Linked DNA regions of Homo sapiens: region 2 is linked to region 1. Evidence: promoter capture Hi-C in human tissues and cell types (Jung and others, 2019). All regions are on one chromosome and are shown on one strand. Each heading gives the region's core, a stretch centred on a gene start or on the middle of the fragment in contact. The rest is flanking DNA. Distances are from core to core; before and after follow the strand shown.

Region 1 (5,628 bases), core at 1,530-4,029:
GGGTGGGGCAGTGAGACCACAGGACAGAATGTCAGCTCAGAAAGCAGACGGCGGGGGGCAGTGAGACCACAGGACAGAATGTCTGCTCAGAAAGCAGACGGCGGGGGGCAGTGAGACCACAGGACAGTGCCGCTCCACTCTGACAAAGATGAATCCCGCATGGTTTCAGAGCTGGGAAGGGCCATGGAGGCTTCCAGTACAGCCTTTGACTCACCTGGGAACCCTAAAGACCCCCCAACTTGCCCCACATCCCATATTCTGACTTGGTTGGTGTAGGGCAGCCTAGCTCTAATACAGGGGCAGTTGGAGTGAGACCTACTCTGGTTCTGAGCTAAGGGAGATCTCCAGAGCAGAACTGCATCGGGACATGGCCTCACTGTCCTCGCTGAGCCGGGGGACACAGCTGGGGTCTGCCCCATCCCAACCCTCTCCTTAGGAGGCTGCCTCACTCTTCACCCACCTGCACCTGCACCCACCTGCATGTCCCGCCCAGGACATGTCCCTCCCCACCCAGGACTGGGACCACTGCCAGGTGCCCCTGTCCCACCTGAGAAACCACGCCAGGCATGCCCCCTGCCCAAGGTCCCACCGCAGGGCACCTCTATCCCTCAGGACCCACCGCAGGGCACCCCCATCCTTCAGGACCCACCGCCAGGCATCCCCCACCAGGATCTACTGCCTGGTGCCACCCCAGGACCCACAGCCAGCCACCCCCCACCCCAGGACTCACCACCAGGTGCCCCCACTTCAGGACCCACCACCAGGCACCCCTACCACCGCCAGGCACTTCTCCCCAAAACCCACTGCCAAACGCCCCACCAGGACCCACTGCCATGTGCCCCCAGCCCCCAGAACCCACCGCCAGGCACCCCCCAGCACCTGAGGACCCACCTCTAGGTGCTTCCCCAGTACCTACCAGGCACCCCTTCCCCCTAGACCCACTGCCAGGTCCCACCCCCAGGACCCAAAACTGGGTGCCCCCCGGACCCACCGCTAGGTTGCCCCACCAGGACCCATCACCCGGTGACCCCAATACCCACCGCCAGCTGCCCCTCCTTCAGGACCCACCACCAGGCTCCCTCCCAGCACCCATTGCCAGGCACCCCGTTCCCCAGGACCCATCACTGGGCACCCCCCTTGGACCCACCGCTAGGCACTCCCCCTCCAGGATCCACTGCTGGGCACCCCCCTTGGACCCACCGCCGGGCATCCCCCTCACCACTGCCTGAGGCTGCCTTGGCCTGGCCCCTTCCTAGCTGCTGCCCTCTCTGCCTCCTTCACGCAGATCTGCTGAGAGGATCCTGCATAAGCCTCCTGTCCCACCATGGGGAGGTCCATGCAGCATGGAGCCCAGGCCTCCCTCGAGGGAGACTGGGAGGATCCCGCCCTGTCAGGCCTTCGGATGAGATGGCACCCTTGGCCAACAGCAGCCCTGAGCCAAAGGCACCGACAGGCTCAGATTTCTGAGCTGAAATCGTGTTTGCTGTTTGAAGCCCCCAAGTGTTGGGGTGAGTCGTTCATCAACAATAGACAACTCCTCACACCACGTAGGCACTTCTGTTTCGTCTGTTTGGTAATTTCCGTATTCTCTTTTTTTAACTGGCATTCTCTCCACATCCCTAAGTCACACATGGCAGCCCGCTTCTTTCCTGGTGGCTCTGACTTTCGGTGCTCTTGCCCCTTGGCGGGGCCGCTGTCCTGTGGCTGTGGCCACACCCGGAGTGAGAGGCTGGAGGCCGTGTAGCCTCATGGCCTTGGACATGAGCAGGCCCCTGGACGATCTCTCCTTGCCTCTGCAGCCACCAGCCCGCCCTCAGTCCCCTCCCCAAGACTCACCCAAGCAGCGTCGGGATCTTCCCGGTCAGCGTGGAGAAGGCCACACTGAGCTCAGTGAGCTGCGCCATCTTGCTGAGCTCCCGGGCGATGGAGGCGAGGAGGGGGTCCTCGCCGTCGGGAGTGGAGGCGTAGGTGGGGGGTGCATCAAAGGCCTTGGTGGGCAGGGTGAGCGAGGCCAGCCGGGGGAAGCCCACCTGGGCCAGAAGCTGCTGCACGTGGCCCGCATGCAGCCGCACGTTGTGCACCACCTCCAGCTTGCGCAGGGCACCCGGGCCAGCCAGACGCAGCACGTGCAGGAGCTGGCTGGGGCTCAGGCTGTCCGCCCGGAACGAGGGGCAGTGCACCCGCAGAGGGGCCGGGCCCGCTGGCCTCAGAGCCTGCACCACCGCCTCGAAGTTGCCCTCAGTGACGAAGAGGTCGGCGAGGACCTCGACGGGGCGCCCGGCTGCGAGGGGCTCTGCCTGCAGCTCACAGCAGGTCCTGGCCAGCAGCTGGGTGCGGCCCCACCTGCCCAGCGCCCTCCCGCACGGGCACCGCTGCACCTGCACATCTCGGATGCCCGTGAGGTCAGCCACCCGCAGCCGCCGGCGGCTCCGGTCCTGCAGCACGTGGTCCGCGAGGCCGCGCACCAGCGCCTCCAGGCAGGCCCTGCAGGTTCTGTCGCGCAGGTCCTGGGGGTGGTCGGCACCAGGACCCAGCAGCGCTCCCAGCCGGAACTCCTCCAGGGGCCAGCGCCCCAGCACCGCGCGCGTCACCTCCGCCTGCTCCAGCAGGTAGCTGGCTTTGAACAGGAGTGGGTAGAGGTTGTGGGCCACGCTGTCCAGGCTCTGCCGGGCCACCTGGGGGTGGGACACCAGAGCTTCTGCAGAAATGAAGCGGAGTGACCTCATTGTGTCCATGGCCCGAGACAGGACCGCTCCCCACGACTTTCCCCAAGGCGTGTGCCCTTCACGCCTATCTTTAGCTGCAGCAGCTGTGAGCAGCCTGCCCTGGGGGCCCTGCCACGGGGCCTTATGATCATCTGACTGCTATTTTGGTCCTGGGACACCTGCGTCTGCCCGGCCTCGGGGCACGCAGCCGTTGGGAGCTGCTTGGCTCAGGCACCCAGCCGTTGGGAGCTGCTTGGCTCAGGCACCCAGCCGTTGGGAGCTGCTTGGCTCAGGCACCCAGCCGACACAGAAAGGCAGCCCGTGCCCATGGCAGGGCTGGGCAGAGAAGCCTGTGCTCCATGCTGCAGAAAGCCAGTCTTGGCAGGCGTTCGTGCTGGCGGCCGGTGAGGCCAGCGGGCAGGTCCTGTTTACCATCCAAGCGGGGCTACTGCCCAGCTCTGGGCACCTCCCCCACCAGTCAACGGGGCAGAGAACAGGCCAGGCCCCTGCGCCTCACTCGGTAACCAGTTCCCTTTCCACAGTGGCCTCTGGGGCCGCTCCCACACTTCGCCTCGCATCTGGGGTGAGACGAGTGGCCAGGAATGGAGCTGCTGTTTTGCCCCTTCCCTGTGCCTTTCCTTCTCCCCAAGGACCCGGCGGGGGTGGCTTCCCTACTTTCCATGGGAGAGAGTGGCTGGGAGAGGTGGAGCCTCCCTGATGGCCTCGGATGAGCCCCCAGCTCTCTCTGAGCTGCAGTGTCCTGTCTGCAACCCTGCCGCCTGTGCGGCAGGGAAAGCTGCAGGGAATGGGATACACCTGTGTTGGGGGGCGGTGCCTGATGGTTCACTCCCAGCACTGACCGTGTTGGACAGCTGATGGGTGCTGCACTCACCTCTCCCCGTGACACTGCCACTCAGGGCAGGGTCAGCACACATCGCTGCACACATCACTGCACACATCACTACAGGGCACCACGTGTCCATGGGCTTTGGAGGGTCACGGCCATGAGACAGAGGCTGAGGGAGACTGAGAGAAGTGAGTGACGGAGACTGAGACAGAGACAGAGGGACAGAAACTAAGAGGGAGAGAGACAGAGACTGAGGGAGAGAGAAAGGGAAACAGAAAGAGACAGACTGAGAGAGAGACAGAAAGGGAGAGACAGAGACTAAGAGAGAGAGAGAGAGACTGGTAGGCAGAGACAGAGACTGAGAAAGACAGACAGACGGGGAGACAGAAAGAGAAACAGCAGTGGGAGGGGGAAGGCTGCTGAGCAAGCTTGGAGGGTGCTGGTCATGGGTGCCCCACCAGCCTCCCTGTCTGACCCTCCCCAGTTTGTTCCCTGAGCCTGAGCAATGCCTCTCCCCGGGAGGCGACCCATGCAGAAGGGACTGTGCTCCGTTGTGGGGCCCAGGCACTGTCCAGCAGGCGGAGGTGTGTGTGAAGAGGTGGGTGGGCCCTGACCCCACCCTTCAGGGGTGGCCGCCCTCGGCCAGCCGATGTGGGCCCCCGGGCTCCCCTCATGAGGTGCACAAGAGGTTTCCCCAGACACACGGCCCCTTTCCAGGACCAGATAAGAGAATCTCGAAGGACACAGTAGAAAAACATGTTCCATTGGTTTTTATGATTAAAATTTTTAACAATTCAGTATTGATACAAAGTAAACACTTAACAACAGTGGCAGGTAACGCCATTTCCCAGACACCTTTTGGGTTCTGAAAAGTGGTTTCCAGAACCTTCCTTTACCTACTCGGGCTCTGTGTGGCCCAACACCCTGCTGTCACTGCGGGGCCCCTGGGTCTCGGAGGGTGGAGACCATGGCTAGGAAGGTCAGCCAAGGTCTGGGCCCCTGCAGCCTCCCTCTCGCTTACTGTTTTCCCTTCTTTTAGAGAGGGGTGGTCCTCTTGGGGTTCCCATTCCAGCAGGACCACTCAGCACAGGTTGGGTCAGACTCAGGCCCAGCTCTGGCGCCGCCGTCCCAACCTGGGGCCACGGCTCTGGGCTCCTTACAGGAAATGCCATGACAAACAGGCGTTCTTTCTCAGACCTAACTCAAGTGCTGTCCTGCTAACTACATGGGACCTGCTGAAACCGAAATGAACCGAGATTCCAGTTCTGTGCAGAGATGGCTGGACCTGCGTTGGGGACATGCCTGGACCACCCAGCCCACTGGCCTTCACTGGTCTGAAAGGTTGTGAGGTACACTGGTCCTAGGATGGCTCACCACGGCTCTGAGACACTGTGAGCCCGGCCATGGGCGGTGGACACGGGGTGAGGGGGTCTGGTGTTCCCACCCTGGGTCACCCCATGACCTTTGGAGGGCAGGAGGGTTCCAGGCTGCAGGAGCATGGGGGTCTGCAGCTGGCAGGCACTGCTGAGTCCCTGCTGGACCAGGGGTAGAGGAACCATCCAGGAGGAAAGCAAAAGAGGCCAGGCCTAGGGGGCAGGGCCCATTATGGGCGACTGCAGGCCCCGAACGGCAATGCTGACCATCGGTGTGCGCAGCCCCTGCCTGAGACCTTCATTTCCAGGCCCGTGCACAAGTCTGGCTCTCGAGGACTGGGGCACTCCCTGGAGGACCCACCTCCATCCCAGCTGTCAGAAGAAAAACTGCTGTTACTCACGTCGCACGGGCCTCTCCCTAGGACCCGCTGGCCCCTCAAAGCTGTGACAGCACAGACGTGGCCTGGCACCCAGCAAGGCCTCTGACACCTGATACACACGGTGGGGCCAGGCCGGATGGAGAGCATCGCTGAGCCTGCCTCTGGTTCCAAAGCTCGGGAGGCTCCTCTGCGAGGCCACCTTGTGGTGCAGAGTGGATCTGCAGCTTGAGGGGAGCTCCAGGTCCCAGCCAGACGGGGCGTGGACTCGGCGGCAGCTCCACCCAGCTGGTGTCATGGGCGTTCTGTGGGCAACAGGGTTTGGA
Region 2 (5,751 bases), core at 11-2,510, 720 kb before region 1:
CCATGTCCTGAATGTCAGAAACAGCTGCGGGGGTGGGCAGGGGAGCACCAAGGCAGCCACCCACACACTGAGAAGGATGAGAAGCTGTAGGGAGCAGACCCTGGAGGGCCCACCCTATGTCCCAGGCTTATAACCAGAGAATTCCCATGGCCCAGTGCCCAGAGCTGTCACCTCCCCTGCATCAAAAGGCTCCCACTCATGATCCATGGCCACTGTCACCTCTGTGCTGAGCACTGTGTCCAGCACAGAGGCTGCTACTGATCAGACAGAGCCTGAGTCACTTCTGATTTGAAAGGAAACATTCCAAGATGGGGGTTTTCTCTTCTCAGATGTAAGTGTATCTGCTCTGCCAGACACTGAGTCCTTACCCCAACCGGCTGCTGGGGACAGTGCAGGGGAGGGGTGAGTGCCCCAGGCCGAAGCATCTGCAACAGGCCCAGCACCCAGTGGGTGAGGCTGTGGATCCAGGTCACTGTTCTATGTGAGCTGAACCCAGACTGAAAGAGCACAAACCTCTGGTGAGGCCAGCGAGGGCCCTGGCCACGAGCTCAGCACACCACAGAGGCAGACGTGCATGTGTGTGCATGCATGCGTGTGAGCAGAGGCATGTGGCACAGCCGCCTCCTCCCAAAGGACTCAAGACAGCCCCTGTGTTTCGGTGCCAAGGTCAGCTCCTCCTCCGGCCCCAGGACCCTGTGGTTTAGAAACTGAGATAAAATGAGGCTGATACCCCAGGGCTACTAAGCGGAATCTCCGGCGAGGCTGAGACCTGTGGACAGGGCGGGTGCTGGAGGACAGCAGTGGAGACTCACCTGGACATACAGCGCATGAGCCAGAAAGGGGAGTTTTCTCAGGACCCGGCCGCTGAGGCCCTCGCTCTTCCTGTGTAAAGAAAACCCAGTTCAGAGACAGCAATTTATACAATCACACGTTTCAGGACTAATTTTCCTCATTGGCCGAGGCATCCCTGGGAACACAAGCCGAGGCGTCCCAAGCACACCCTGGGTTCACAGGGCACTTCCTGCCCCTCACTGGTCTCCTGAGCCTTGCCCTCTGAATGTCTCTTTGCCCCCGGCCTCTCGTATGGGGCCGGTCTCTCCCCATCCTCAGCTCCTGCTCTGGGAGGCAGTGTCCTCGCGGCTCTGAAGCACACCCAAGGCACACCTGTGTGCTCTGCCCCAGGGCCAGCATCCTTGTGCTCAGGGAAGGCATCACCTGCCCGGGAGCCTCTGCCCCAGGGCCAGCATCCTTGCGCTCAGGGAATGCATCACCTGCCCGGGAGCCTCTGCCCCAGGGCCAGCATCCTTGCGCTCAGGGAATGCATCACCTGCCTGGGAGCCTCTGCCCCAGGGCCAGCATCCTTGCGCTCAGGGAAGGCATCACCTGCCCGGGAGCCTCTGCCCCAGGGCCAGCATCCTTGCGCTCAGGGAAGGCATCACCTGCCTGGGAGCACCAGGCGTAAGGCACGATGCAGCGGGCACATGGTCAGTAGGCACAGAGTCCCCAAATAATGGGTGGGTTCACATCTTCAATTTTTGTAGAAGTCTCTGAACTGTTCTTCGTTCCCATCTTAACTGATTTAAATCTCTTCAACAGATAATCCAAATCCTTAAAAAATACTACATTCTTCATGTTATCCCTTGTTTAAAGCCTTCCACATTCTTGCCAACTTCAAAATAAAATTCAAACTCTGGCCAGAAACCCGAGGCTCTGTCCATTCCACCCCCCGCCTCTCCGGCACCTCCCCAGCCTCCACACTGCAACCCACTAGACGGTCACCTGAACACACTGCTCCAGCAGCCTTCCTGATTTCTCTCCAGCTGGAACCAAATTCTATCCTTCAAGGCACCGTTTGATTTTCCTACCTTCCCTTCCACCCTCCCTGGACCCCCAAAGCCATTTCCTTTCTGTGGACTCTGCGAATCCTTGTAAGTGTCGTCAGCCGTAGGGTTGCAGGCTTCCAGTGTGAGCCAGCGCCCTCCCTGAGCAAGGGTTACATCTCCTTTGGAAGGAGGTGGCTGTGCTGCGTGTTTCTACTCACATGCACACACACACACACACACACGTGTGTACATGCATGTTCATACCTATACTGTGTTGAGAGTTCACACCCAGGGCCCTCCCTGGTCTCCTCAAAGGAAACAATGACTCCCTAGTTAATATCACAAATGGATTCTTCTTGATTACAAAAATGAGGTCAATTTGCACCTTGAAATGTCATTCAAAAGAAGGCTCAATTTTGACACGTTGTTTTCAATGAAGCCAATCATCTCTAGCTCTCGGAGGGTCAGCAGCTGCTGGCGAGGGTATATGATCTGACACTGGGGAGACAGAAGTACAGGCGGTTAGCTGAGTCCACAGAGGCCTGAGCGTAGGCACCGTCAGCAAGAGGGACAGCACCTGCAGGTCAAATGTCAACCACGCCACGTCTCACAGAAATCCAGACGGTGACGACTCAAGATGCACAGCTGCACTAGGGAACAAGCTCGCTCTCTCATGCCTCTCAGCGTACACATTCTGCTTTTTCAAACAAATACAAATAACGGAACATGCCTCAGAAACCAGTAGCAACATAGCCTCTTCTGTGTTTCGAGCCAAAACTTTTCCTCCCTGTGTGTCAGGAAGGGAAGGGACCTGGAGGCACCCAGTCCAGTCTGTTATGCCACCTTCGGAGACGTCAAAACCCACAGTGGGCAGAGCTGGGACTTAGAGCCAGGACTTCCACTGACTTCCAAAGCAGGATCCTAGTTTGTCTGTTTTAAAGGTGAGGCTTGTTTGGCAGCATGACAGTGTCTGACTGACCGAGGAGCTGAGCACCAGAAGTTCCCCTCAGAGATCATTTGTCTGGAAGTCATGCTTTTCCAAGCAGCCTTGCCAACAGTCAGGTGCGCACACTGACTTACTATGACTGAATTCTAATACGAACCGTTCTGACTCAGGAACAAGGAGAAGGAAGAAAATAGCATTGTCTGAACATTTTGGAGGTTTGTTGAGGGGTGTGAGCAAAATTAAGACAGTTTGTGCTTGTGCTTTGGGGGATATTGAGCTTTCGAGACCAGTTCAATATCCACTGTGACATCTGCATGTCTTAATTTCATATAAACTGCCTAAAATAAGAAACTACCCCTATCACTGGGCACGGTGGCTCACGCCTGTAACCTCAGCACTTTGGAAGGCTGAGGTGGGCGGATCACTTGAGGTCAGGAGTTTGAGACCAGCCAGGCCAACATGATGAAACCCTTTCTCTACTGAAAATACAAAAATTAGCCAGGTGTGGTGGCATGCACCTGTAATCCCAGCTACTCACGAAGCTGAGGCACGAGAATCGCTTGAACCCAGGAGGCGGAGGTTGCAGTGAGCTGCGATGGCACCACTGTACTCCAGCTCTAGGTAAGAGTGAGACTGTGTCTCAAAATAAACAAACAAACAAAAAACTACCCCTGTCCTACACTGTCCCAGAAAAAGTCCATCCCTCTTAGCTAACACTTTAAACAGCCCCTGGATTCACAGCACGAGTGTACAAGTGTATAAACGTCACACTGCGAGGGCTGGAACCCACACTGAAGGTGCGTGAGGACCTCCAACACACACGACTTCCTCGCAGGATCTGCTATCACGTGGGGCTCCTTGGCAGCAAAACTGCTGTAGAATCAGTCTTCAGATCACTGGCATTCTCCAGGCAAAGCTCCACAGAGCTCCGTCTCCTTTCCCCAACCCCCAAGAAAACCATGCCTGGACAGTGCTGACCCGGGCAGGCCCAGTGGGTCCATGGCTGAGACCAGTTCTCCCGTCCCCAACCACAGCAGGGTGTGCCATCCTTGTTAACACCCCTACTCTGTGGTACCAGCAGGTGGCAACAACTGCATTAAACTCATCACTGTTTAAATCCCCATTCACTGGTTTGCTTGGTTACCGCCCAACTACCCTAAACAAAGGCCCCTGCAGGATGATTTGTCTGGGACAGGTCTGTTCCCACAGGGGCTAGAGCAGCAGAAACACAAGCATGGGGCAGGTCCCTGCTAGCCTGACTCACACACACCGCAGCGTCACTGCCCATGGCGACGGCGTTCCAGACTCACGCACACTCACCACACGCGTCACTGTGCCCATGGCGACGGCCTTACTGACTCACACTCACCGCACATGTCATTGTGCCCGTGGCGACGGCCCTCCTGACTCACACTCACCGCACGTCACTGTGCCCGTGGCGACGGCCCTCCTGACTCACACACGCTCCCCGCACGCGTCGCTCTGCCCGTGGCGACGGCCTTCCTGACTCACACACACAACCCGCACGCGTCGCTCTGCCCACGGCAACAGTGTTCCTGCCTATCATCACAACAGGCGACTCAAGAACGTGACGTCATGTGGACCCCGTGACCAAAACCAGGCCCATACTACGCCCGTGATGTTTCCTCTTTCAGGTAAGGATACAGGCCCCCGAGAGGCAGGGCATTGGAAAAGCCCGGGGTAAGCTGAGAACTAAGGTTTGTGCAGCCAGCCAGGTAAACACAGCCGGTCACTGACGTCCCCTACACTGACTGGTACCTCAAATAATGAACAATGATGACTGTATTGTGCCAAAAGAACAAAAATATTGAGTCAGTGGCCCTAGTTTCAACTATCAGCTCAACCTGTCACATACAAAACTAGTTTTCAATTTAAGAAGGGAGTTAATGCATATGTTGAAATCCTCCGTACTGGAACGAGCTTATTTTAAGCTATCTTAATTAATTAAGAACATATAAGAAATCCATTTGTATCAAGAGGAAAAAAAAAATAAAGGTACCTTCATCAGTTCTTCCAAACAAGAGAGGTAGATTTTGAAGATGGCTGCTGCAGAGGGTGGCCCAATGTACTGCTTGATGTCAGCCCTGTCCACGAAGGCCACGTCGATCTTCTCGGTGATGTTAGAAGTGGTCAGAATCACAACATTGGAATGCCTGTTGTGGCCGAGAAGCAAGCACCACAGTCATCACGGCTGTCGGTGACCCAATTCTATCCTGCCCTATCTGGCAAGGAGGTTGGCAGGACGATGGCCAGCAGGCTGCCAACAGGAAGGAAAGTGGCCTTGTGCCAACACAGGCCACGCAGACCCCCCAGCCTTTGCTCTCGCTGCTCCTTGGCCTTCTGGGAATTCTACAGCCCCACTTCGCTCATTCCCTCACTGCCTTCAACCTTGGCAAGGATCTCACTTTCCTTTTTTTTTTTTTTTGAGACAGAGTCTCGCTCTTTCGCCCAGGCTGGAGTGCAGTGGTGCTATCTCGGCTCACTGCAAGCTCCGCCTCGCCGGTTCACACCATTCTCCTGCCTCAGCCTCCCAAGTAGCCGGGACTACAGGCGCCCGCCACCGTGCCCGGCTAATTTTTTGTATTTTTAGTGGAGACGGGGTTTCACCGTGTTAGCCAGGATGGTCTCGATCTCCTGACCTCGTGATCCGCCTGCCTCGGCCTCCCAAAGTGCTGGGATTACAGGCGTAAGCCACCGCGCCCGGCCTAGCAAGGATCTCACTTTCGCATGGCGTTCCTGATTGTGCCACCTACCGTGGGCTCTGGTGCCCACCACCACCTGGGCATGGCCACTCATCATCCCTAGACATACTCTAGAGCTGGGTTACTTCCCATGTTCATGATCTGCTCTCCCCTCTAGCGTCTAAACTCCATAGAGAGAGCCCCTGTTGTCTGGTCTGTTGACCAATGTCCCCCAAGGACCCAGCATGAGCCAGCAGAGCGGGCACAAGGTGCCCCCAGG

The links. The method cuts DNA at HindIII sites, captures the fragments that hold promoters and counts their contacts. A contact is called where the count stands out against the background at its distance.
Region 2: a fragment that was not itself captured here is called in contact with the fragment with the promoter of LRRC14B in region 1 in 2 of the 25 tissues and cell types used here (lymphoblastoid cells and mesenchymal stem cells).

Annotation. Positions count from the first base shown.
Region 1 is chr5:188,646-194,273 of GRCh38, reverse strand. It overlaps LRRC14B (leucine rich repeat containing 14B), which reads right to left and starts at 2,779. Exons shown (of 2, transcript NM_001080478.3): 1 at 1,837-2,779. The coding sequence starts at 2,735. It overlaps LOC124900929 (a long non-coding RNA gene), which reads left to right. Exons shown (of 2, transcript XR_007058670.1): 2 at 1,286-1,546. PLEKHG4B (pleckstrin homology and RhoGEF domain containing G4B) reads right to left here. Exons shown (of 20, transcript NM_052909.5): 20 at 4,308-5,628. RefSeq lists enhancers at 3,065-3,114, 5,180-5,319, 5,366-5,628, 5,620-5,628. The HindIII fragment of the contact is 15,773 bases long and covers 1-5,628 here.
Region 2 is chr5:911,035-916,785 of GRCh38, reverse strand. TRIP13 (thyroid hormone receptor interactor 13) reads right to left here. Exons shown (of 13, transcript NM_004237.4): 10 at 4,790-4,943; 11 at 2,209-2,321; 12 at 813-882. Among named protein-coding and RNA genes, the nearest start is that of TRIP13, 21 kb to the right of the region's middle. The HindIII fragment of the contact is 4,728 bases long and covers 1-3,624 here.